4 separate regions of the Homo sapiens genome follow, and all the other regions are linked to region 3. Evidence: promoter capture Hi-C in 16 types of primary human blood cells and fetal thymus (Javierre and others, 2016). All regions are on one chromosome and are shown on one strand. Each heading gives the region's core, a stretch centred on a gene start or on the middle of the fragment in contact. The rest is flanking DNA. Distances are from core to core; before and after follow the strand shown. Region 1 overlaps WASHC3 (WASH complex subunit 3). Region 2 overlaps MYBPC1 (myosin binding protein C1). Region 3 holds the start of GNPTAB (N-acetylglucosamine-1-phosphate transferase subunits alpha and beta). Region 4 overlaps MYBPC1 (myosin binding protein C1).

What was found. Contacts are between HindIII fragments. The CHiCAGO score rates a contact against its expected background, and 5 or more counts as called.
Region 1: a contact is called between a fragment that was not itself captured here and the fragment with the promoter of GNPTAB in region 3, in 1 of 17 cell types (neutrophils). The highest score is 5.7, in neutrophils.
Region 2: a fragment that was not itself captured here is called in contact with the fragment with the promoter of GNPTAB in region 3 in 1 of 17 cell types (neutrophils); the score reaches 5.7 in neutrophils.
Region 4: a contact is called between a fragment that was not itself captured here and the fragment with the promoter of GNPTAB in region 3, in 1 of 17 cell types (neutrophils). The highest score is 6.6, in neutrophils.

Annotation. Positions count from the first base shown.
Region 1 is chr12:102,031,632-102,038,577 of GRCh38, forward strand. All of the region lies in intron 5 of WASHC3 (WASH complex subunit 3), which reads right to left. Among named protein-coding and RNA genes, the nearest start is that of WASHC3, 27 kb to the right of the region's middle. The HindIII fragment of the contact is 1,314 bases long and covers 1,674-2,987 here.
Region 2 is chr12:101,631,703-101,638,210 of GRCh38, forward strand. It overlaps MYBPC1 (myosin binding protein C1), which reads left to right. Exons shown (of 32, transcript NM_002465.4): 7 at 1-17; 8 at 319-436; 9 at 2,852-2,903; 10 at 4,970-5,026. Among named protein-coding and RNA genes, the nearest start is that of MYBPC1, 40 kb to the left of the region's middle. RefSeq lists a silencer at 3,270-3,359. The HindIII fragment of the contact is 6,229 bases long and covers 577-6,508 here.
Region 3 is chr12:101,825,932-101,833,169 of GRCh38, forward strand. It overlaps GNPTAB (N-acetylglucosamine-1-phosphate transferase subunits alpha and beta), which reads right to left and starts at 5,028. Exons shown (of 21, transcript NM_024312.5): 1 at 4,628-5,028. The coding sequence starts at 4,744. RefSeq lists silencers at 4,160-4,454, 4,811-5,210. The HindIII fragment of the contact is 15,537 bases long and covers 1-7,238 here.
Region 4 is chr12:101,650,561-101,657,628 of GRCh38, forward strand. It overlaps MYBPC1 (myosin binding protein C1), which reads left to right. Exons shown (of 32, transcript NM_002465.4): 16 at 671-833; 17 at 2,118-2,224; 18 at 2,555-2,688. It overlaps LOC105369937 (a long non-coding RNA gene), which reads right to left and starts at 311. Exons shown (of 2, transcript NR_188371.1): 1 at 256-311. The HindIII fragment of the contact is 1,258 bases long and covers 2,621-3,878 here.

The sequences.
Region 1 (6,946 bases), core at 1,081-3,580, 200 kb after region 3:
GCTTTTATTTTTCAATAAACAGAATGAGGCTAAAACAACACAAAAGTTATTCCCCCATCCCACAAACCTTCATGTACTCAAAAAATACTGATCTTGATATTGATTAGTAAACCTTAGGTATTATAAAAGAAATGAAATACATATTAATATTATACCTATAGTTAAAAAACAATGAAAAAAGAAATCACATCGTTATTAAGCTAAATCTGTAACAGTGTTTTTCACAGCTATGATTATGTATGAACCAGTAGCTCCTCCTTTTTGACTATACTTTGACTATACTGTTGATCACTGATGAGGAAACTACCTGGAGTTCTCTAAACCATGGAAAGCCACATTGGGGTCATATCCAAAAAATGTTTTAAAGACTTTAATTACTCTTACAATAACTGTATCTTGTTTGTCATCTAAAGAACATGCTACTTCATGCTTGACTGGTTTCACAAGGTCCAAGGTGCATACCTTCTTGATGGACATCTTTAATAATCATTTAGAAGCTCCTCATCCTTAGGTAATGGAAGTCACATTTCCTCAGGCCAACATCCACCACTGGCAATGGATGCATCAGAACCACCAGAACCAAAGAGATTATTCAATTCACATTTTAAGCCAGCCAAAGAAAATAGAGCTTTAAAAAAATCTAAGTGTCTAAGAGACTGTTTTGGCAAATATGGTTTCAAAAAATACAAGTCATTAGCTTCTTAATGTGGAAGTCGGACTTGCCCAATGCACAATTTATTACTGGCAGAGGATTCACCATGATCTGCCAGTAAAAAGGGGAGAATTGTTGGAAAAGTGATCTATGTACACAATTCCAGTTAAGTTATAAAAGCAATATGTAATTTAGTAAAGGCTTGTGCTGCACTATTATGACAAACATTAAATCAAAATCAATTATCTGCCACATTTGGAACACAACAGTATTACTCACTGAAAAATCTTGTATAAAACTTGGTTAAAAAGGAAAAAAAAGTCAGAAAATGCCAGCAGGTGTTCCAGGAACATTCATTAGTAATGAGATCCAAATTTGGGGATCAATTAATAGATCATAAATCTAAAAGGAACTTCAGATCTCATTTTATGTATGAGGGAACTGAAGTCTTGAGAGGTGACATGACTTGATGTGATGGCAAAGCTAAGAAACTATACCATGTTGTATTCCAGAAGTACTGGGAAAAGATCTGGGTGTATTCCTAGGCAATGAAATTTTCTCCCAGAGAAAGAACAACTTTTCTTTCATTGTTTTAATCTAATCATTGTTTTATCTCTCAGAGGGTAGTAATCCAGCAGTGACAGAAAAAGGCATGGAGACCAAAAAACAAGGTATTACTTATTACTCTGTCAACTGGTACTTGTGATTAGTGAAGGACTGTGTTGGTTTTTGTACAAAGGAGTTTATATTGATTAAATAGTTTTCATTATCTAGACTGTAAAATAGATTTACAGGTATGTGGCAAGTGAAGCAAGGCACATATAAAAGCAAGGCATTCCAGGCGATAGTTAGTACCCAGGAAGAGGGAGTTTTCATGGCAGTTTAGAGAGGAAGCCAAAGGGGTCTGTAGTTCATCCTGATATCCAGGAAGTCTTAAAATCAGGAAAAATCTGTTTTTGTAACCCGCAAGACTTTCATTCATATCTGAAGTGAATGATCACATCAGAAGTCTGCAAATTAAAGCTTTCTATGCTACAGAAGAAGCTGAAAGGTCTTGAAAAACACAATTCTATCCTATTACAGAAGACAAAAATCGTTCTAAACAATAATTAAAATAGTAGGAGAAATGATTAAAAGATTGTTGAGGAGCTATGTATCAAGATGATACTGAGTGAAAGTATATTACACTTTGGAAAAAGAAACTCAGTATAATTGTAATAGAGGTATTAAGACTCTTCTTATGGGGCAGTAACTAATATTTTTAAATGACAAGAATATAAAGGCAACTGAAAAGAGACAAATCCTATTATTTCCCTTTCACAAGGTGAAAGACCTTGTGGCACTGTTAATTCCCTTTTGAATGCATAGAGATGGTTATTCTTAAGATCTTAGGATTAGATATTGTTGGTATAAAGGATTAGATATTGTTGGTATAAATACAGTTTTTTTTTTCAGAAAGAGTTTTTTTTTTTGAGACTATGTCATCTTCCTTTGTGTTAATATAAACAATTCCCTAAAAGCTGACATGTAGGCTTCTAAAACTGTTTCTATAAGCTGTAGTCATATGTACAATGGATGGTAAACTACTCAAGGTCATACTAATGGACAAATTAGAACTCATTTAAAGAATTATGTTGTTATCGGTCTTTCTCTGCATTAAGAACTAAAACTGAATTTTGAGTGGTGGGTAAGCAAATGTTAGTCACCCCTAAAGTTGAGAAAAATTAGGTATTTTAATACATATCTAAAATCTTGTTGGGAAAGTGAAACACTTTTCAGTATGATAAGGTAGTCTGTAATGAAGTCACCCTCTAGAATTAGCTGGGGTTAGGCTCCTCCTTATAGCCAGTGGTCAAATTTGCTTTTTTATCTATATCCCCCTGAACCCTGTTTGTTCTCAGTTATACTCAAAGAATTGAACCACATTTTCAGAGTGAACAACTGATTAGAAGACAAACACAGAAAATAGGAAGGCATATCACCATCCTGAGGTATAGAGATACAAAGCTATCTGTATTCTTTCCATGTCAATGACAGAAAATGAATGGTTCAATGGTACAAATTATAATAGGTCTCTCGTGATTGTTCTTCACTCCACTTCTCTGAGGCATTTTCTAAAGCAAAGTGGTACTGTTATCTGCTCTTCCAGTTAAAAGTTATAATTTGGTAATGGAATGGATATAGGAAACACAACTAGCTATGCAGATACTGCTGAAGAATAATATTTTAGGTGATAACTTATGACATTAGAATGACTGTACTCTTGGAAAAGTGCTAAGTGGTTTGGAAGAACCAAAAGATTATGTTGACATAATACCCACAGGTATGTTCAAGAAGCTTTACGCTGAAATCAAAAGATTAAAACATCCTCAGTTAAAATTTTAAGACTAGACCTACGAATAACAATAATATAATAGGGAAAAAACAGTGGAATAACTGCCAGGAAATTATTAGGAGGAAAATGTAAACAGCAAACAAATCCAATAGCCTAAAAAAAAGTGTGTGTGTGTGTGTGTGTGTGTGTGTGTGTGTGAGTATGTAAATACAGCAAATCTGAAATTTCAAAATAAGTAAATCTTGGGGACTGCTAACACTTAATGGGAAGAAACTTGTGTATGAGAACTGGCATTTCAAAGAAATGTCTTACAATGTTTCCCAGCAGAAAGAGGACAATAACCGTAAATCAAAATATATACACATATATGGAAATTCTTGAACATGAGATAAAGAAACCCCTAAGTGAGGCTAAAAGAAGGCAGAAATTTTATCAGATGGGGCATACTTTTTAGCTACCTAGCCGGATGGAAGATTTAGATAAGGCTTTCTTAAAACACTGTAAACAAGCAGAAAGATACAGACATGACGGGGGATATTATCCATCTACAGGTACTAGCAGCTTAATTTTGCCTATATTAGAATACCTGATAAATTCCTAAGTTGCCCCACTGAAAATTTAATTCCTCAATAAAGGGAGCAATGAGGCAAACATGCAACTATTTGCGCCTAAGTTTGAACACAAAGGCCAAAATAAATGATAATGAAGAAGGGACAGGAATTCTGGTAGTGATTATGCCAAGGAAAGAAAATTCCTGGGCATTGTCAAATGTGTAGCCTACATCTGTTGTTGGAAATTTTGACAGTCACTCATGATATGCTTAGAAAACAGAAGAAGAAGGAGTGAATTTATAGATGGTTCAATAATCATAATCCAAAAAATAATGATTGGCAGATTCATGTCAACCTTGAGGAAGACCTCTGCTGGGTCTATTCTTGTTTTAGTCCTGAAAAATATTTTAAATTGATAACTTGAAGAAATGAGAGCATATTTATACATATCCAGGTAGCACAAAGTGAAGAAGGAGAGATCATATGCAGGATTACATATAGAGTCCATTAACAAATATTGATTGAGCACCTTTATGGGTAAGGTGTTAAAATGAATACACGGATTAATCAAGATACCATTCTCCCTCTCATGGTTCCATTTTCAACTGGAGATACAAAAATATGTACAGATAATCATAAAACAGAGTATTAAGTGACAAACTCCAGGAAGAATACCGGTAAAGTCATTGGATAGGTCAACAAAAGGAGCTATTACTTCTAGCTTTACGTGTGTTGGTGGGTTTAGAATCTGGAATGATTTAGTGGACGCAATCGTAGGAGCATGTTAGATAACAGAATTTGGACATGCAATAATAAAGAGAAAGAGAATCTGGATTCAGAGAAGGAAAAGCATGGAGCTTATATAGGGAATGGTTTGTGGTTTTGTCTGATTAAAGAATGGAGTTCAGGGCTGGGTGTGGTGGCTCACGCCTGTAATCCCAGCACTTTGGGAGGCTGAGGCAGGTGGATCACCTGAGGTCAGGAGTTCAACACCAGCCTGGCCAACAGGGCGAAACCCCGTCTCTACTAAAAGTACACAAATTAGCTGGGTGTGGTGGCGGGCACCACCTTAATCCCAGCTACTCAGGAGGCTGAGGCAGGAGAATCGCTTGAATCTGGGAGGCAGAGGTTGCAGTGAGCCGTGACTGTGCCCCTTTGCTCCAGCCTGGGTGACAAGAGAGAGACTCCGTCTCAAAAAAAAAAAAAAAAAAAAATCCAATTCAGGACAGGGAGCAATAGGAAATAAAAGTTGGGTAATAAGGTTCTGGGATGCAGGTTGGCACAATAAACTAAAAACAATAAAATTAAATTTAACTTGGATGAACTTCTAGTTTTAGGATGGCAGTTTGATGTAGCTCCCCACTTTCTTCTTGAAAATCACCCCTAAACAATTCGAAACAGAATATGACCTCCAACTTTAATGACTAAGAGGCATATATGAACCAATTACATAAAAATTAAGAGCAGATAGAAGAATGATTGATGACTTAGCAGAGCAAAAGAAGGTCAAGTCCATGTGCCTGAAGGAGGAGATGCCAGGAAGAAGCAGCCCTTCCAGAATGCTGAAAATGCTTAGGAAATAGATATACCCTCACCGAAGGCAGAAAGGAGACAAAGGGCTAACAACAGAAAAATTTGTCTTAAATCAGAAACAGTCTGAGGCAGAAGAAATTGAACCCCTAATCATACTCAGTGACATCAAGCAAAAAGGATGGGCTAGAGTTAAGTGCTAAGTACTGCTAGAAAAAAGTTAAGGCTTTTTAAAAATAAAACAACTATTTATTTTCTTAAATGCTTTTAAATTTAAAAAATGTAAATGATATTAAGATATAGTTTAAAAATATTTTTAAGCAATTCTTAATCAGGAGTTTTTTTCCAAAATACATATGCTGTATGTACCAAGTACCAACTCTAGAGATTCTAATTTTGTAGGGTAGGGCCCAGGAACTTATATTTTGGAAGTTTCTCAAACCACTGAGTTAGTGTGAAAAAGGAGTCCATCACCTAAACCTATCAAAAGGTGAAATAGTATAGACAAATTATAAGCATTTTCATTCACAGGACTATGTACAAGGTATTATTGCAGGAATGAGGAATACTGTAGTACACAAAAAAATCCCCTTTGCTTGTGGAGTTTATAACTTTGTAGGGAAGAGAGAGAGTAAATACATAAAATATGTAGAATGCTGGAAGTTGATAAGAAGAAAAATACAGCAGAGAAGGCGTAAAGGGAATTGGGTAGGAGGACACTGCAATTTAAAATAGGGTGGCCAAGGAAGGCTGTACTTAGAAGGTAATATTTTTGAATACAGACTTGAAGGAAGTGAGGGAGCAAACCATGAAGATATCTGGGGAAAAGTGTTTCAGGCAGACAGAACAGCTGAAGCAAAGGCCCTGAGACAGGGGCTGCCAATGTATTTATTCAAGGGACATAAAGGAGGCCAGTAGAGCTGGAGAAGAGTGAGTGAGGATATGAGATCATAAAGGTAACAGGGGAGCTAAACTGTATAGGATTTCTTGGGCCTGTGAAGGATCTTGGCTCTTATTCCTAGTGAGGTGATAAGACATATGAATAAAAAGTAAATATTTAAAGGGTCATTTATTTTATTCAGTTTTTTTTTTGTTTTTTGTTTTTTGTTTTTTTGAGACAGAGTTTCACTCTTGTTGCCCAGGCTGGAGTACAATGCGTGATCTTGGCTCATTGCAACCTCCGCCTCCTGGGTTCAAGCGATTCTCCTGCCTCAGCCTCCCGAGTAGCTGGGATTACAGGCATGTGCCACCATGACCAGCTAATTTTGTATTTTTAGTAGAGACAAGGTTTCTCCATGTTGGTCAGGTTGGTCTCAAACTCCCGACCTCAAGTGATCCGCCCGCCTCGGCCTCCCAAAGTGCTGGGATTACAGGAGTGAGCCACCATGCCCGGCCCGGGTCATTTATTTTATATGTATATTTATGACTGAAAAGCAATTGAACTTGTTGACGTAATTAGTAACAAAAATAAAAATTGCAAGTGGTATCTGGAAACCTTAGTTGGCTAAATAAATCTAGATAATACCTAATACAGTAGCTTAGCTTCAAGTAAGTGTTTGATAAATATTTGTGAAATAAACAGATGGTGGATTTAAAAAGAAAAAGATTTTTTGAAGTTCTTATAAAATTGAAGACAATTATCAAGAATTTAACAGTTATCCTAAGATGCAGCCTTCATAAAGATTTCAGGGCATTTTTACAGAGTATCACCTAGTAGATTTTCCTGTTTGTTATTTTATATAGGTTTGGCAAGAAGGGGCTAACATAAAAAATCTTTCTGAGTCATTTAGAAGCATCTCCCTTTTGTTTAAAAGAGTGAAATAGTTTTTGTTGTTGTTGTTGTTGTTGTTGTTTTTTAACAAGTCTATCTTTTAAGCT
Region 2 (6,508 bases), core at 2,441-4,940, 200 kb before region 3:
TTGAGAGGCACAGTCGGGTAAGGCCCTGAACTCCCAGGACAGGCGCTCAGCTAGCGCATTCCTTCTATGTGAATAAATGATTATTTTCAGGTTCAGCTTTGAGAGACTTCAGTTCCAGAAAATCCTCTGAAGTTACCATTGCAGTGTCTACACTCTATTGCGATTGCCCGGCTGTGTCCGGGGGCTACAGGACACATTTGCCCTCCTATAGTGAGAACATTGTACTGGAATTCCCACAGACAGACACAGCTTTAAGCCAATGCTGAGAAATTTGGAAAATAAACTGAAATGTGTGTGTCTGGATGCATTTCATTGCAGGTGTACACATTTGAGATGCAGATCATCAAGGCCAAAGATAACTTTGCAGGAAATTACAGATGCGAGGTCACCTATAAGGATAAGTTTGACAGCTGTTCATTTGATCTTGAAGTGCACGGTAAGAGAGCCTTCTTGCCTAGATAAATGTAATTTTTTAATGGGGTGTGAGGGGATGGAGAAGAAGTAGTTCATTTAATACTATGAGATTTCAGAGAAAGTTTTCCTTTAAAACTGTTTCTGATTGTGGTAGTCTCAGCAAGCTTGCTGAATTGAATTGTAATGAAATAATTTATAATAAAAGTAGAATTGGGGGGATTTTATCGCTAAATATCTCTTGTCCATGCTATCTATATTCTTTCAATCTCCCAGATAAAAGATGATGTCAGTTTTTGCTGCTACAGAATGTATGTTTCAAGGGGTCCACTTTCCCACTTAGGTTTGGGGATAGGGTAATATGCTATGAGAGTTCAGGATACCCAGATGGAAGGGAGAATTTCTCTTATAACGACTAATGTCAGGCATGGCAGTTCTTCATCCATATGTTCTGTGCACTACCCAGAGTAAACATAGAAGGCCTAAATGCATACGATGAGGTTGGAAAAAAACTCGCTTTTACAAGTATACAAAGGAAAAGTTGACTTGGCAGCAAATATTATAAACTTAAGGTGAATGTAAAGTGTGATGTAGTTGCAAAAGACAAAAAAGTGAATGTAATTTTATTTTATTTGAGACAGAGTCTCACTCTGTTGCCCAGGCTAGAATCTAGTGGCACTGTCTTGGTTCACCACAACTTCCAACTCCTGGGTTCAAGCAGTTCTCATGCCTCAGCCTCCCAAATAGCTGGGATTACAGGCGTGTGCCACCACACCTGGCTAATTTTGCTGGGGTATTTTTAGAAGAGACGGGATTTCGCCATATTAGCCAGCCTAGTCTCAAACTCCAGGCCTCAAGTGATCCACCTGCCTTGGCCTCCCAAAGGGCTGGGATTACAGGTGTGAGCCACTGTGCCCGGCCATGAATGTAATTTTAAACTGGGCTATTCCAAGTGCTATAGGATCTAAGTTTAGGAAGTGATACTTCTCTCTACAACATGCTACTTATTCTACATTTGGAGTGATGTCTTTAGCCGTGGTCACTATACCTCTGCCTGGACCTCTTCTCGAGTAGAGTAACCAGGAAGATGAAGAATCCAAAAACCACACCCTATCCAGCTTGAGTGTGTGGGTGAAGGAAGTCAGGCATACATGGCTTGTTGCAAAGAGGGGAAGGGGCTGTCACACAGAAAATGGAAAACAAATTTCCATGCATGAGAAGCATTTAGGCAGTTTAGAATCAAAAGGTGGAAATGATGAGGAGGTGAATTTTGTCTTAACGTTAGGATGAGCTGGCCAGGCACGGTGGTTCACGCCTGTAACCCTAGCACTTTGGGAGGCCGGGGCGGGCAGATCACGAGGACAGCAGTCCGAGACCAGCCTGGCCAACATGGTGAAACCCCGTCTCTACTAGAAATACAAAAATTAGCCAGGCGTGGTGGTGGGCACCTATAATCCCAGCTGCTTGGGAGGCTGAGGCAGGAGAATCGCTTGAACCGGGGAGGCGGAGGTTGCAGTGAGACAAGACCGCGCCATTGCACTCCAGCCTGGGCAACAGAGTGAGACTCCGTCTCAACAAAAAAAAAAAAGGACGAGCTCTTCGGTTAAAGCTATATAGACAGCCCAGGAAGGTTGTGAGAGTCCCACTGAGAGTGATGTCAAGCAGAGGCTGGATGGCCATGGGTCGGGTGCTGTCGATATTTCTGTATTAGGTGGGATCTGGGATCCTGGGCAGCACTGCTTCAACCTGGCTGGGCATCTCTGAGAAGATCACCTGGAGGGCTTTTTTTTTTTTTTTAGACGGAGTCTCGCTCCTCTCTGTCACCCAGGCTGGAGTGCAGTGGCGCGATCTCGGCTCACTGCGAGCTCCGCCTCCCGGGTTCACGCCATTCTCCTGCCTCAGCCTCCCGAGTAGCTGGGACTACAGGCGCCCGCCACCACGGCCGGCTAATTTTGTTCTTGTATTTTTAGTAGAGACGGGGTTTCACCGTGTTAGCCAGGCTGGTCGCGATCTCCTGATCTCGTGATCCGCCCGCCTCGGCCTCCCAAAGTGCTGGGATTACAGGCGTGAGCCACCGCGCCCGGCCCCTGGAGGGCTATTTAAGAATATTGATTTCTGGGTGCCCCTCCCTGATCTGGTGGATCAACATCTTTGGCAGAGAGGATCAAGAAACTGATATATTTCTAAGTCCCTCAGTGATTCTAGTGGGCAGACAAGTTGAATGACACCTGAACAAGGTGACCCCAAGGTCCCTTCATTGGTTCTTCATGAGGGAGGAGGAGGTATGATGAGGCCTTGGCAGCACAGCCATTCAGGAGAAAAGCCTCCCCCCTTCACCTGACATTCTTCCATCTAAAGAATCCCCACAGCCTATAAAGGAACTGAACACAAACTACCTCCTTAATGGGTATTTATGTTATTGTTTTCTTTCCTTTCAAAGAATCTACTGGGACTACTCCAAACATTGACATCAGATCTGCTTTCAAGAGAAGGTAACTCCAAAAGAAAAATCTAGATAGCTTTTGTATAACACAGAAGTGGAGGATTTTCAAACACATTTCCTTTCCCCTGTATTCCGTATTCCAAATACGAACAACACTTTTCACCGCAAAAACACCATATATTTAAACATTGGTGTTCTAGAAAAACCATGGGTTTAAGGCCCAGTCAAGCATATACTGACCATTTTTTAGAATGTTCTTGTTATAAAGAAGTTCCTGTTTTGGAGGTTTCACAGTTGCCTTAGAAAGACACTTTCAATTTATTCATATGTAGCTTCCTCCTTAAAGCATTACTTTCCACCAAATGGCCAAAAGAAATACGCAAAGAGACTCATTTCATTGGTTAAGTCACGGCAGAAAACTTTTATTTATATTGCCTTTCATCTAGAAATCACTCAGGGAGCTACTGAACCATGTGCCCAAGAAAACCACAACCAAGTAGCTACTTACTGAAGTTAGTGCCATATAATATTGGATTATCCTAAATGAAACTGGCATTAAGAATACTACAGAAAGGCAAAATTTAGATACCTATTTCATATATTTTTGCAATTACCAAGGCTGAAAAATGGAGGGGGGGCGGTCAAGGAAGAAATGTAAAAGATTTTTGGTCTCTGAGAAATATAACCAGCCCCTTCCTGTCATTATGTTATTCTCTGTACTTAATTATTCCATAATATAAATTCTTTAATGAGACCAAATGTTTTGTTCTTCCGAAGACTGAATCCACATACAGAATCCACATACAGTTTTGCTGAATAAGGAAAGTCACTCCAAACTATTATAAAACAATAATTTAGCCTGTTAATGAGGCATATTTTCCTCTGATATTATAAATAAATCAAAACTTTAATTACTTTGAAAAGTTATTTAATATTACTGGTATTAGGTATTTTTTAATTTTAAAAAATGTCATAACTTTCAAATTTTATTACTTTCCTTCCACTTTCCCTTCATCCCATGCTCAGCAAATGCACAGGTCTAAAACTATGCTCATACTGTATACAAGTATATCTTAGGAGAGGGAAACATGATCTACTAAGTTTTGAGCTTTAAAAGAACAGAAATGTATTTACTTCAAAAGGCCTGCAAACACCTGAAGAAATTTTGAAAACACATTACTGAGTTTAATTCTTATGACTTACATGTTATACACACTGTTTTTAAACCCACAGACTCTTTTCTTAGAAACCATAACTAACATTTGTAAAGAGCAGGAAACAAAACTTCCTTAAAAAATTAAACATGTAAGTAACTATGTAGTGCCATTTAAATGTTAGCTCTGTAGCTTCTGGTTAGAGTTTATATGAAATCACAGTGGTGGCTGCATGCCTAATTTAAGATGCATTTCTCTACAAGAAAGCACTTTTTTAAACTGCTAGTAAAAGTTTCATTAACAATTCAAGACAAATTTTTTTAAAACATATTTAAGAAGGTATAAATATTAATAAGAAAATTAGAATAATTATCACCCTTTAAGACAGAAAGGAATGCATCTTTTAAAAATTTCTGTGTTAGCTCCTTTTTTATTTTTGCCATGTTAGTATCACATTATCTGATTCATCTGTTCATGGACACAAAGAGGTTACCATTGAATATAAGGCTTTGTACTTATATATCTGACATTGGTACACTTCGTCCTCCAAGCCAATCTCTGTCTTACATGAATAACAGAGATCAGCAAAAGTTCTTTGCTTTTTACATAGGTATGTTTCTACAGCCCCCAACTTGCAAAAACAAAGTACTTTGTGTTGCTTGGCTTAAGTGCATTTGTGTTACCTGGTTTTAACACAAATCCAAGCAGTTTTATATATGCAATCTACAAAAATGTGTCTTCTGAAATCATAGCGTAACACAAGCTCCTCATATGTTTACTTTTCCACAAGTACATACTCCAAAAACTTAACATGTCACTTGTGTGAAAAGAAATAGTTTGTGTTGATTTAGTCCTTGTGTGGCACAAAATTGCATATACGTTACATGTAGAGTGTTTGGGGGAAATTGTTGTGTATGTCTCTGCATTAAACCCAGATTTGCTTTTCTTTTGTTAACGACAGTGGAGAAGGTCAAGAGGATGCAGGAGAACTTGACTTTAGTGGTCTCCTGAAACGTAGGTGAGAACAAAGTGATGGAGTGAGACATTGTGGCCTGGAAGTCTTTCAGACACCCACTCAGAGAAGTCAAGTTTAAAGTGGATGTTCTTCAGAGAATTTTTCATTTCTGAAAATGTGTTTTGCTTATAGAATATAACAGAGTTGACTAGAAAGAGAGAAACAACTGCATACTAATCTTTTAAAGCCTTTAACAGTTGCTTTTAAACTTTCTTTTTAAATGTTTCATGACTCTTCACCTATTTTTTTTTAAATGGGGACGAAGAGATATGAAAACTGAGACATAAGACAAATACCTAGAAACCTCTAAGACTGCACATATGATTTGGTAGAAGTCTGAAGGTATACACATTGTAAGAGGCAGACCTACTTTAATGTATTATTTATGATGTACTGTATTTCTGCAAGTCTAAGACACCACTGCTATTAAGATACACCAGCACTTTATAAATCACTAAGCAATGAAAAAATTGTTCCAAATGGTTTGACACACCATTGATTATAAGATGCATTGTCATTTCAGAGGTCTTTAAAATGCCTCAAAAATGTGTTTTAGAAGTGACAAAATGGAAATAAAAGTTTAGTATCATCACACACTGACACTTTTCATTGTTCTCTCCTGCAATAAAATTTATAGGATTTCATTATGGATACTTAGAACATAACCATTTTATAAGATTTCTCTCCATATATATTTCTATAACTGCTATACTCTTCACTAGGATTCCCTATATATATACTATATTATATGCCTGTTATAGATATCTAGATATTTACTATAGTGCAGAAGCAACAAAAAGAAACACTTTTTTTCTGAGATTATGTTTTATCTAGCAAATTTGTAAATAAACAGAGTAAAACTATAATTTTAAATTAATTGTATATAATATCAGTTTTCATTTAACTTTCCAGGCTTTTAAAATTACTTTTAGTGCTTTCTATGGTTATTAAAAGACTACAAGTACAAATATGCTTCATAACAAATTACAAACACTTGAAATATACTGGGATTGTGTTTATTCTCTGTTTAGTTAGATAGCTGTATTGAAGTCTCTGTAAATGAAAAATTTACCCCTATCCCTCAACATGTAGGTTGAGAACAGAAATATTAATGGGTGTGATTTATTAATTCCTGAGGGCTATTAGCCCATCAATAGACTACTTCAAATAACCATTAGTCTCAATAGTATTGATTAATTCCCCAAATGCATTTAAAGCAATAGTATATGAAGTGCCCTTAAGTGAGCCTCACGTTTCCTCATTCTACAGATAAGAAACCAAGGTACAGAGACAACAAGTGACTTATCCCAAGTCACACAGGAGTTAGAGGCAGGGCCAGGACCCAAACCCAAGTTTCCCTTTTATGAGTCAGCTCATTTCCTGTGACTCCATATTAAAGATACCACTCTGAATTTGCCTTGGAAGCTGGCGCTTCAGTTTATAACACAAATTGACACTTTAGGAAGACAAGAGAGCTTTGTATTC
Region 3 (7,238 bases), core at 3,778-6,277:
CTAGGAGCAGGCCAGACGGTCCCCACTCTCAGGCCAGGCCTCTTTCTAACTCATCTGTTTGTTGCCTTTGGCCAAGAACACACTCAAATATATCTGTTTAATGAGTGAACTAATCAAATACAAAAATGATAACTAATTTCTTGAAATAAGGCCAGTATAAGACACTGGTCACCACTGAGGCTGAACATAACTTGAGCTAGACCCAGTTTTCAATTCTCCTTTTCACAGAAAATAACTCATTGATTCAAAATGGCAACAGAAAAGCAGGAAAGCAAAAGGGAGCAGAGAGGTCACGGAAAAATTACCATTCATTACGAGTAGATTCTATGTGAACCTATTTTGCTTCCTTATGCAAGTTAATTCTTGGATATTTGTTTCCATACTTAGTGCACAAAGGAAGTGATACGTTATACATACACCATACCCCCACACACAGATACACATACACATATACACACTGATCTACAACCCTCTATTAGTAATCCTGAAATCCAAAATGCTCTGAATACTGGAGGGGCTTTCAACTTTTTGTTTCTAATTTTTAATTTTTTTAATTTTATTTTTCTGATTTTTAATTTTTTTTTTTTTTCAAAACAGACCAGCCCTACCTAGAGATCTTTTTGTACCTTATTTGGCAACTAAACTTGACCTGCCCTGTACTTATTTGGTGGCAAAATGACTAAACTGACTTGAGGCTAGGTATAGTCTGTATTTTCCTGAGTGTGAAGAATTGTGGACTTGTATATAAATGGTTCGATTAAATAATGATGGCCCTGAAATAATAAATTTTAACTCAAAAACACGTTTTAAAATCTATACAGTAGCAACTAACAGAGAACAAATTATTTAAAAACCAGAAGTTTCTAAGCTAAAAAGGATCTTAAGAGCAGTCAATCTAGTAACACCATTTGTGGAGCTAACTAATTTACAATAGACTGATTACCTGCTACCTACAGTCCAAGGCAATGCATTTTTGTGACCACTAGTCCCCATTCTGAAGGCTCTCCCTGTGGGAGTTGTTTTTTTTTTTTTTTTTTTTTTTTTTTTGAGACCAGGTCTACCAGGCTGGAGTGCATGGCACAATCACAGGCACTGCACCTCAAACTCCTGGGCTCAAGCAACACTCCTGCCACAGCCTCCTGCCTCCTGAGCAGCTGGGACTACAGGCATGTGCCACCACACCTAGCTAACTTTTTTTATTTATGTATTTATTTTTGAGACAAGGTTTCACTCTGTCACCCAGGCTTAAGTGCAGTGGTGCAATCACGGCTCATGCAGCCTCAACCACCAGGGCTCAAGTGATCCTCCCACCCCAGTCTCCCAAGCAACTGGGACTACTCTACTTTTTTTGCAGAGATAGGGTTTCGCCATGTTGCCCAGGCTGGTCTCAAACTCCTGAGCTCAAGCAATTCTCCTGCCTCGGCCTGCCAAAGTGCTGGGATTACAGGTGTGAGCCACCACGCCCAGCCTTTATTTTTATTTTTTTTTGTAGAGACAGGGTCTCCTTTGTTTCCCAGGCTTGTCCAACTCCTGACTTCAAGCAATCCTCCAGCCTTAGTCTCCCAAAGTCCTGGGATTACAGGCATGAGCCACCTCACCCAGCTTGTTTTGTTTGATACTTCCTTCCCTCAATTCTACTTCTCGAAGTTTGGATGAATATAGAAAAGGCTTATCAAAATACAGCATCAAATACCTGTTATATTGAGAGGAGGAGACGATAACAAATTTACAGTTAACAATGATCTTCTGAGGGCCAGGCACAGTGGCTCGCACCTATAATCCCAGCATTTTGGGAGGCCAAGGCAGGCGGATCACCTAAGGTCCAGAGTTTGAGACCAGCCTGGCCAACATGGTGAAACCCTGTCTCTACTAAAAATACAAAAACTTAGTCTAGCGTGATGGCGGGTGCCTATAATCCCAGCTACTCCGGAGGGTGGGGCAGGGAAAATTACTTGAACCTGGAAGGTGGAGGTTGCAGTGAGCTGAGATCACCCCACTGCACTCCAGCGTGGGCAAGAGTGAGACTCTATCTCAAAACAAAACAAAAAAAACAATGATCTTCTTAGTCCAAAAGGACTTACAATTAGTGAGCTTACAATCCATTACAATTAGTGAGATTATTAACAAGTTGGTAATATTAACTATATGATCAAAGTATTCTGATTCAAGGATATATTTCAAAATAAGGTTTAAGGACATAAAAGAGTTGATAATATAATAGCAGCAGTAGCCATGACCATTTAATGAGGGTCTGTTATGTAGTAGGAACTGTGTGAGGTGCTTTACATACCCATCTTATTTAATCCTCATCAACCCTGCAAGGAAGGTAATCTGGCCTCCATTTCAAAGATAAGGAAGCTCAGAGAGGTTAAATATCCTTCCCAAGATCAGACAAGGAACAGCCTGGGCTGTTTGAGAAACCATAAAAAGGGGTGCTCAAGAGCACAGCTTAGGCTGGTCGTGGTGGCTCACGCCTGTAATCCCATGGGAGACCAAAGCAAGCGAATCATGAGGTCAGGAGTTCGAGACCAGTCTGGCCAACATAGTGAAACCCCATCTCTACTAAAAATACAAAAAATTAGCCAGGTGTGGTGGCACGCACCTGTAATCCCAGCTACTTGGGAGGCTGAGACATGAGAATCACGTGAACCCAGGAGGCGAGACATGAGAATCACGTGAACCCAGGAGGCAGAGGTTGCAGTGAGCCGAGATTGCGCCATTGCACTCCAGCTTGGGTGACAGTGTGAGACTCCATCTCAAAAAACAAACAAAAAAAAAAGCACAGCTCTGAGCCAGCCTGGCTTGGTTTGAAGCCCAGCTCTGCCACAAATTAGCTGGATTCTAATGCAAATGCATCCATTTCATCACCTATAAAATGGTTATAATAATAGCACCTATCCCACAGGGGTGATGTTGTGAGGATTAAATCAGTTAACATATGTAAAGCAATTAAGAGAGTGCCTGATACCTGTTAAGACCAATATAAGTATTAGCTATTATTATGATCATTATCAACTGGAGTCAGCAATCAAGGCCAAATCTGCCTAATCATGCAGCTCCTCTTTTCCATTATGCCTTACAAGTTAACCACAGGCCAGCTGCCTTCACCTCTCATGACACCTGTTGGCACTGTCTGCCTCTCATTTCTCTTGTCTGTTCCAAACCTTATGATCTGTGGCCATTTCAGGACTGCAACAAAATGTCTCTCTTTTGGTAAACAGCCAAGCATGGAATGAAAGCAAAAAGAAAAGGATATAAAATGAAAAATTCGGGCCAGGTGCGGTGGCTTACACCTGTAATCCCAACACTTTGGGAGGCCAAGGCAGGCAGATCACTTGAGGTCAGAAGTTTGAGACCAGCCTGGCCAACATAGTGAAACTCCATCTCTACTAAAAATACAAAAATTAGCTGTGCATGGTGGTACGCGCCTGTAGTCCCAGCTACTCAGGAGGCTGAGGTAGGAGAATTTCTTGAACCTGAGAGGTAGAGGTTGCAATGAGCCGAGATGGAGCCACTGCATTCCAGCCTGGGCAACAGAGCAAGACTCTGTCTCAAAAAAATAAAATAAAATGAAGAATTCTAACACCTGATGCCTTTAAGTCATCTTCACACTGCATGGGACTTAATAAACAGTTAACTCAAAATTAATCAAGGCCAAAAAAATCACACAAAAGCAATAAGGCACCTAACTACACACAGATACATTAAGTTGCAACACATGAAACAAAGACGAGCAAGTACTATAATATTAAGTACATATTTCACACTTACAAATCTGGAGCTTTCTCACCCTTATGGTAAGACATTTTTTCCCAGCCTCTAGAACCAAGAACTACTAAAAAAGTACATGCTCAGAATTCATGCCATATAATTTAGCCATTAAACAAACACTTGCACTGCATTCTCTGGCAGTACCTGGCACTGTGCTTGGGCCAGGGTTACAGTATTTACAGACAGCACCTTCTCTTACGGAGCTTACAATCCAGCATGGGTAAAGACTTCAAGCAAATGTATACTGTGGCATTTCTAAAAACTACTCTGTTAAATTTTAAAACCTTTTGTAACCTCCTACCAAAAAAAAAAAAAAAAAAGAAAAAGAAAAAAACTAAAACTAAGGAACAGATTTCAAACCACTTAAAAATACAGCTTTCCTCCCCGTTGCTAAAAGTGGCTTTCTTGGGCCAGGTGCGGTAGCTCATGCCTGTAACCCCAGCACTTTAGAAAGCCAAGAAGGGAGGATCACTTGAGCCCAGGACTTCCAGACCAACCTGGGCAACATAGGGAGACCTCCGTCTCTATTTTTAAAAAACGGTGGGCGAGGGAGCAATATCTAAAATCACATACATGCCTTTTTCCAGTTCTGACTTGCTCATAGTCTCTGCACACGTTTATGATAAAGAATACTGTATTTGGCCGGGAGCGGTGGCTCACGCCTGTAATCCCAGCACTCGGGGACGCCGAGACAGGGCGATCGCCTGAGCTCAGGAGTTCGAGACCAGCCTGGGCAACATGGCAAAACCCCGTCTCTAATAATGAAAAAATACATACTGTATCGGGGCATCGCGGGGCACGGCGAGGGCAGTGCAGGGTCGAGGCGCCCGGTCCAGGCTGCGGCGCCGCTACTCACCTCTCCGAACTGGAAGGCGGAGACGATGGTGACAACGACGCCCAAGAAGCACACGTAGAGCCCATACCTGTGGGACAGGCAGGTATAGGTCTGTCTCTGCAGGAGCTTGAACAGCATCACCCCTTCACCGCCACGCCACGCCCCGAGGAGCCTGAGCCGCCGCCGCCGCCGCCGCCGCCTCAGCGAGCCGCCATTCAGGGGCCCCGGTCGGGCCGCCGCGCGCAGGTCACAGCCTCCGGGCGCCGCTCATTGCAGCTCCGGCGACGGACGCCCGCTCGGCTCCGCGCCGCGGCCGCCGCTTCCGGGAGCCGGGAGCCCACGCCCTCGGCGCGGCGGAGGCGGACCTGCGGCCGGCGAGGCGGCCGGCGCCGCCCGGGTCTGGCCGGGCGAGAGGCGGCTGCGGCGGCGGCGGGGTCTCCAGCGCCACCTGGAGGACGGAGGGGCATAGGGAAGGTGCGCGCCCTCCCCACCTGCGCTTGCGCAGCGGGCCCTGAGGGCTGGGCTGGGAGGGGCGGAGCTGAGCTGGGATCCACTTACCCGGTTGGGCAGGCGACCAAGAGAAAACTGCCCCCTGCGTCGAGACTGTGCCATAGACGGTACTATAATGCCATGAATATTTTTGTGCATAAAACCTTCTCTGCACTTAGCATTCTCTGCAGAGTGCTAAAAGGAGATGCTGTATGTGGCTCCTTTCCTCCAACCCCCAACTATATTGTTTGAAAGAGGAAACCTTTGGGTTAAATCTGCCAAAACCGAATTTCGTTCATTCATTTAGTCGTTAAATATGTAATTTGTGCCTGTTAGGTGGCATAGTGCTTGGTGTCAGGTATTCAAAAATGAACTAGACCTGGCTACTGTTCTCAGAGAGTCTAGTGGGGGAGATAAACATGTAAACCACTAAATACAAGAGTTGTTATGATAGAAATCATGCGATGAACTGGAGGGGAACCAGCTCAGGGGTGGCCAGGTAATCCGACTTTGACAGCAGGTTTTTCCCACGAGATCCTTTCCTTGGTGCCTCTGATTTACGAAAGGGAGATCTTTTTCTTAATCCCAATGCACCCTAGTCAATAAGATTTTTTTCCTAGTCACCCTGGGAAACAATACACTTATCTAATGTTGCCATCATTCAAAGCATTTTTAAAAATATCTTGGGAACCAGCTTCAGGAAATACTCAAATTCGCACCCTCAGTTTGATGGTCAGGTGGAATTAACAGACTTGCAAAAGGGGTTAGCTTCACTCCAATCCAAGGCAAGATTTTTTACACTTTGCAGTCACTTCTTTTAATCCTTCTTTTAAAAAAGATGATTGATATATGCTATATGTACATGGCAAAAGATTATTGCAGTTGTACAAGACACATATAGTTCTGAGGTCTTTTCAAGCATGATAACAGATCTGAGGACTTAATCAGAAGGGGTAAAAAAGCATGGTAACAGATATAAAAACATCTGCCACTCAACAGGACTCTCAGGATAATGGCCAACATTTATGTAGCATCTGCCATGTGCCCAGCTCATCTAATCCTCACAATAATCTTATAATGGAGATACCATTATTATCCCCATTCTACAGATCAAGAAACTGTGATGAAAAAAAGTAACTATCTAACATCACACAAATAGTAAATGACAGAATTGAGATTTGAACCAGGTACTTAGGCTGTAGAACAGGGCCAAGATTAGGGGAAGGTACTGTGAAATGAGTCATGCAAGTTTGGAGTGAGATTCTGTCTTTGTTTATAGTTTTGATATCGGGGCTGGGTGTGGTGGCTCATGCATGTAATCCCAATACTTTGGGAGGTCAATGTGGGAGGATAGCTTGAGCCCAGGAGTCTGGGAGCCCAGAAGTTTGAGACCAGCCTGGGTAACAGACCCTGTTCCTATTAAAATAAAAAAAAAATTTAAAACGTAAAATAAAACATAAAGTTTGGGTGTTTTGCTTTTCATGGATATTCTTCAGTAATGTTTTTTGTTTTTTTTGTTTTTTGGGTTTTTTTTTTTTTTTTGAGACAGAGTCTTGCTCTGTTGCCCAGGCTGGGTTGCAGTGGCGTGATCTCAGCTCACTGCAACATCCGCCTCCTGGCTTCAAGCAATTCTCCTGACTCAGCCTCCTGAGTAGCTGGGATTACAGGCACATGCCACCACCCCCGGCTAATTTTTGCATTTTTAGTAGAGATGGGGTTTCAGCATCTTGGTCAGGCTGGTCTTGAACTCCTGACCTCAAGTGATTCACCTGCCTTGACCTCCCAAAGTGCTAGGATTACAAGCATGAGCCACTGCGCCCAACCATTAATTTTGATTTTTTAAAAATATTGCATTAGGCTGGGCACGGTGGCTCACGCCTATAATCCCAGCACTTTGGGAGGCTGAGGCGAGTGGATCACCTGAGGTCAGGAGTCTGAGACCAGCCTGACCAACATGGAGAAACCCCATCTCTACTAAAAATACAAAATTAGCAGGGCATGGTGGCACATGCCTGTAATCCCAGCTACTCAGGAAGCTGAGGCAGGAGAATCACTTGAACCCGGGAGGCAGAGGTTGCGGTCAGCCGAGATCGTGCCATTGCACTCCAGCCTGGGCAACAAGAGTGAAACTCCATCTAATAAA
Region 4 (7,068 bases), core at 2,000-4,499, 180 kb before region 3:
GCAGCAGGGGGGTAACCGCCCCCATGATTCAATTACCTCCCACCACGTCCCTCCCATGACATGTGAGGATTATAGGAACTACAATTCAAGATGAGATTTAGGTGAGGGCACAGCCAAACCACATCAGTCAGCGACATATTTTTTAAAATATAAGAACCCAGTAAAAAGTAGTAGCACAGTTTTACACATGCTAAATGGTTAATAAATATAATAAATATGGCACTTAATGTTGAAAAAGACCTGAGATTTGCTTACAGAATTAATGCTGGAAGTGTTGTGGCTTGTGAACTGTTGTGAAGCAGTAGAAAGAGGATTATTCAAAATCTGATGAGTAGTTGTGACCTCAGATGTAAATGGGTGTGGCTTATATCACATGGATGAACTGAGGTAGCTGATAGATGTTTGAGGTGTGAGTCTGCAGATTTTGTGCATTCCTTGCTGGGTCATTTCAGCTGGATGCAATTTTCTGCATTCACCTAGTTTTTCTAAGGAATGAAATTGTACAGAATCAAATGTGAAATTATCCTCTAATATATTAATTGCATTGGTACAGCTTCTCACTTTCAAAACAAACATTGTAGTAGAGCTCACTATACCATTGTGAAATGCCACCATCTTGGCCTGTTGGGAGTTTGGGCTTGGCATTTGTGATGGTCTATCATTTCTACAGTGAAACCTCTGAAGATTTTGACACCTCTGACTGATCAGACTGTAAATCTTGGAAAAGAAATCTGCCTGAAGTGTGAAATCTCTGAAAACATACCAGGAAAATGGACTAAAAATGGCCTACCTGTTCAGGAGAGTGACCGTCTAAAGGTGGTTCACAAGGGAAGGTAAGCGAGCCAGGTGACCCGCAAGTGAGGTTTGGTCCCATTTCTACTTTCTCCATTTTCTAAATTACATATTTGGTGAGGATATTTGAAGGGTAGCCATAGGGAGATCATCTATTCCTGATTCTTCGCTTCCAACTAGCAAGAAGGTGTGATTTCTCTGTTGTATAGCATGTCCTACTCATAATCCTGTATCTGTACCTCACACTATGGTACTTTGTCTATTCAAAATCCATTGACTCTTTTTCCATTTAAACATGAAGTTAGAGGCCAGGCACCATGGCTCATGCCTGTAATCCCAACACTTTGGGACGCCAAGGCAGACGGATCAATTGAGCTCAGGAGTTCAAGAGCTCCTGGGCTACATGGCAAAACCTCATCTCTACAAAAAACACAAAAATTAGCCAGGCGTGGTGGCATGCACCTGTAATCCCAACTACTTGGGAGGTGGGAGGATGGCTTGAACCCAGTAGGGGGAGGTTGAAGTGAGCTGAGATCACACCACTGCATTTCAGCCTGGGAAACAGAATGAGAGACCTTGTCTCTAAAATAAATAATAAACATGAAGTTAGAGGAAAAATACTGAATTCTAATTGAGGACCTGATCAAATGGATTAACCGTCTCTAACCAATAAGTGTCACAATGCCTTCCCACAAATCTTTATTTGCGTAGGGGACATAATATCCTAGAATCTGGCAAAGATCTAAGGCAAGAGTTTAACTTTGAATTCATGGGCTTTTAGGGTATCATAAATGAACTTTAGGAAGCCCCATAACTCCTGTGAAATTGTGAGAAAATTCTATGTGTACAAAAATACATACTGTTTACACAGAAAGGATTCATAGTGTCCATCAGATATTCACTAGTTTGTGACCCCAATAAAGTTAAGAGCTATTGTTCTTAGGGTTTGGGATGTAAAGCCAAAATCAAGATTATTCTTGGCATCTCTTGAATCTTAAAGTATAGCATTATTGATATGTTCTATTTTAGCCTTTTTAAAGCTATGAGATGAAAAAAAAGAATAATAGACTCTGCATATACAATAAGCAGATTCTATTTGTGGAGATAATTCCATATAGTCCAAAATAAAGATTTAATTTGAATCAATAAGTAGGATAATTAAGGCTTCTCATCCTCTCTCTCTCTCTCTCTCTTTCTCTCTCTCTCTCCCTCTCTTTCCTGCACTAAAGAAGTTAATCAGATAAAGGTCAAGTGTCTTTTCAGCTTGGGTCATATATAAACTAGATCTTTGGAGTCTTAGAAATACATTTTCCTTGTTTCCTTAGGATCCACAAGTTAGTGATAGCCAATGCCCTCACTGAAGATGAAGGTGATTATGTATTTGCACCTGATGCCTACAATGTTACTCTGCCTGCCAAAGTTCATGTTATTGGTGAGTAGATAAAATAATTCATTGCATAGTTGTGTTCTTTTTTGTTTGCTTTTGCTTACCATGGAATTATAATATATTCAAAACTAAGTGACATTTAAGGAAAAATACATCAATTGGTATTAATCACCAATCAGAAAGATTGGTGACTTATACCAACACCTTACAATAAAATGGTTTTGCAAGGTGCCAGGCACCAACTATCTTGACTCCTCTTATATTCTTTTTGATTAGATAAAATATTGGTTACTACCATCATACTAGCCAAACATTAGTGCAGATATTTACACAGAAATGACTGTCTGATAACAAAGACTATGCTTAATATTCTAGATCCTCCTAAGATCATCCTGGATGGTCTTGATGCTGACAACACAGTGACAGTGATTGCAGGAAACAAGCTTCGTCTTGAGATCCCCATCAGCGGAGAACCACCTCCTAAAGCCATGTGGAGCCGGGGAGATAAGGTTTGTTTTATGCTTGCACACACTCACATGCACACACACATATGCAGACACACTGCCTACCCCACCCCTTGCCCTCCATTATTCAGATGAAGGTAGAAAACAAATAAATGTACAGCAGTACAGTAAAGATGTAATTCCTTTGAAAAAGAAAGATGACTGATTTTCAGGCAAATCTGATCATCATTAATTTACTTCTCATATTTCTGACTATTATGTAGCAAAGCATGTTTTGATGCACAGTGAAAAAGCCTCATTTTTATTCTAATGAAATTGGGGGGATGAAAAAGAAAATGAATTATTAAATAAATAAATGAACAAAGTCACTTTGGATAGTAATAAGTACAAGAAGATAATAAAAGAGAATGATACAATAGCAAGTAACTGCATAGTCAATGGCAGCCTCTGTGAAGAACAAGGAACCCATTATGTGAAGATCAAACGGAAGACATTTCCATACGGAGGCAATTACAAGTGCAAAGGCCAAGGGGAGAGAATAAGCCTGATGTGTTGGAGGAACAGAAGGAAAGCCAGCATGGCTGGGGCAAAGTGAATGATTGGGAGAAATGCAAGTGAGGGTGAAATGGTAGAGTAGTGCCAGCTCAAGTGTGACTCCGTGGCTTTCTACAAAAATAAAAGCAAAAAAAGAAAAATTACATTTAAAAAGAAGACATGAGGCTGGGCATGGTGGCTCATGCCTGTAATCCCAGCACTTTGGGAGCTGGGGCAGGCAGAACACCTGAAGCCAGGAGTTCCAGACCAGCCTGAGCCTGCATGGAGAAACCCCATCTCTACTAAAAATACAAAAAAATTAGCCAAATATGGTGGCAGCATGCCTCTAATTCCAGCTACTCAGGAGGCTGAGGCACAAGAATTGCTGGAACCCGGGAGGCAGAGGTTGCAGTGAGCCGAGATCACGCCACTGCACTCCAGCTGGGTGACAGAGTGAGACTCTATCTCAAAACAAATTTTTTTAATGTTAAAAATAAAATTAAATAATAAAAAGCAGAATGAGACTTCTACTTTCAACCAGAATTGAATAACAGGAACCAGATTTACCTACTCACTTGAAATAACCCCCAAAATAGACAAAATATGTGAACAATGGGTTTCAAGACATTGGACATCAGATCGTGAAAGACAATGACTATGAAATATGATAAACAAATGAAATAAGCCCTATAATTGCCTCAAGCTTATTGCCATAAAAGAGTATCCAGGCAGTGGCACAAGGAAGAAAAACCTGGACAGAACCCAGTGGACTCCCTAAGTTTAGGACTCCCATTGTACAAGGAGACCAAGGCAGCTAGAGTTCATAGGATACATACTATACATACTGGAGGAGAGAGCTGCACAGAGAGTCCCCCTGGAGCTCTGCAGAGGAACACGCTCAAGTATTCAGCAAAGATCAGTGCACATTTATGAGGAAACTACCCAAGATTCAAGAAAGGAACATATGAAAGGATTAAAGAGAAGTGGACTGGCACTCACACAAGGCCAATAGTAGTGCCTGTTCCCCCTAGCTAGACATGAAAACCTCATCATTCACAGTGCATTGAGTAGAGTACTCAGGAAAGCCTTGCCTTGGTTGCAGGAATAATTAACCCTAGACTGAGCACTGTCATGGACCCACCTAATAAGTCATAAAAACAAGTCTAAAAGATTCAATCAATTTCCAAATAATTTAATTGCATTTCAAAACAAAGCTCAAGATTTATATAGGAATACAAAAATATCAAGCACCCAACATGACAAAATTAGCAATATCCTGCCATCCAGTCAAACATTATGGTAGAGAAATAAGCAGGAAAACACAGCTCAAAATGAGGAGAAAAGTCAGTTACAGCCAATTCAGATCTCACATGTAAATTAGAATAGCAGTCGAGCATATGAAAATAGTTATTTTAAGTGTATTCCATATGTTCAAAAAGTTAGGTGGAGAAATGTTAAGCTCTCCATTTAAATTAAATTTAAGAGAAATTTAATAAAATAAAATAAAAATTAAGAGAAAGTTAAGTGAAAAAAGTGAACTGAAATGGAAAATATAAAAAGATCCAAATCTAATCACCTACAGATGAAAGCAATAAAATGTCTCAGATAAAAAATATGTAGATGGAATTAATAGCTAATTAGACATTGAAGGCAAATTTGAAGACATAGCAATAGAAATGATCCAAAATGAAACACAAGAGAAAAAGTCCAAAAAAATTTAAAGAATCAGTTAGACTTCAAATTTTCATTCGGGCATGTAATCAGCTTAGAAGTTGCCACTCTATCCTAACAAGTAAAAAGCTGGACAAACGGAAAAACTAGCAACTCCTCTTACATATGTCAGAGAAGTGAGGATACAGGGCAAACTGCCAAAATGTGAGAGTGGAGTGACACATTGAAAGTGTTCAGGGTGAAAACCCACCAACCTAGAATTCTGTACCCTCTGAAATTATCTTTCAAAAGTGAAGGAGAAATAAAGACTTTCTCAGACAAACAAAACTTTAGGGAATTTGTTGCCAATGGATCTGTCTTGCAAAAAAATATTAAAAGTTGTTCTTCAGAAAAAGGAAAATAATATAGGTCAGAAACTCAGATCTACATAAAGAAAGAAAGAGTATAAAATAAAGAATAAGTGAAGGTAAAATAAACTTTTTCATTTTTTCCTATTCTCAGTTGATCTAACAAATAATACTTTGTTCAAAATGATAAAAGCAACAATGTATTCAATTAGGTATGCTTATATAGTTATATTTATGTATTTTATATATAAGTGAAATGAATGACAGCAATAATACAAAAAATGGGAGAAAGGAATTAGGGACATTTCATTATTTTAAAGTACATGCACTACTTGTGAACCACTGTAGTGTTGTTTGAAAGTGGAGTTGGGTTAATTGTAAATATATATTGTAAACTAGGGAAACCACTTTAAAAAGTTTAAAAAAGAGGAAGTAAAATTAATATGCTAATAAAGGAGAGAAAATGAAATCACATAGAATGCTTAATTAAAACCACAAAAGGCAGAAAAAAATGTAGAAGACAATAATAGGAACAAAGAAGAAGGGCAACCAATAGAAAATAATAACAAATATGACAGATATTGATCGAGCTATACCAATATTTACTTTAAATGTCAATGGTCCAAATATACAAATTAGAAGCCCAAAATTGTCAGAGTAGAGCAAAAACATGACCCAAAGATATGTTGACTATAAGAAACCCAGTTTAAATATAAAGTTGCATCCATTAAAGTATAGGGAGAGAGAGAGACATGCTGTGCTAAGACTAAACAAAAGAAAGTATGAGTAACCATATTAGCTTCAGACAATGCAGACTACAAAGCGAAGAAATTTATCTGGAATAGAAATGAGCGTTACATAATGATGAATGGGTCAATACTCCAAGAAAGCCTAATAATCCTTAACATGTATACACCTAACAACAGAGCCTCAAAATATATGAGACAAAAACTGATAGAACGGCAATGAAAAATAGATGCATTCACTATTATAGTTGGAGATTTTGACATCCCTCTATCAGAAATGGGCAGATTCAGCAGACAGAAAATCAGTAAGGACACAGCTGAACTCAACAGCACTATCAATCAATTGTATATAAATAACATCTATAGATTACTTCATCCAATAGCAGCAGATTACACATTCTTTTCAAGCACACATAGCATATTCACCAAAATAGAACACATTCTAGGCCATAAAAACACCTTAACAAATTTTTAAAAATAGAAGTCATATAATATCTGCTCTCAGGGACAATGGAATTAAACTAAAAATAAATAAATTACAGAAGTGAAACTAAAAATCAATACATAACAGAAAAATAGCTGAAAATCCCTCAAATTCCTGAAGATTAAACAACACACTTCAAAGATGAAATCTTAAAAGAAAATTTAAAATATATTGAATTAAATGAAAATACAACATATCAAAATGTTTAAGTTGCAGCAAAAGCAGTGCTTAAAGGGAAATTAATGGCAATGATTGCATATATTTAAAAATAAGAAAGACCTAAAACCAGTAATCAAAGTTTACGTGTTAGAAAACAAGAGAAAGAAGAGTAAATTAAATTCAAAGTAAGCAGATAAAAGACATGATACAAATTAGTGCAGAAATAAATGAAATTGAAAACTGGAAATTAATAGAGAAATTAACAAAAGCTGGTTCTTTGTAAATATCAATAAAACGTATAACCCTCTAGCCGGGCTAAGTAGGATAAGAAGAGTCAAGGCTAATTAACAGAAATGAAAGAGGGACATTACTACAAATCCCATGGACATTAAAAGGATAGTTAAGGAATATTATGAACAACTCTATGCCCATAAATTTCACAACCTAGTTGAAATGGACCAACTCCTTGAAAGATACAATCTTC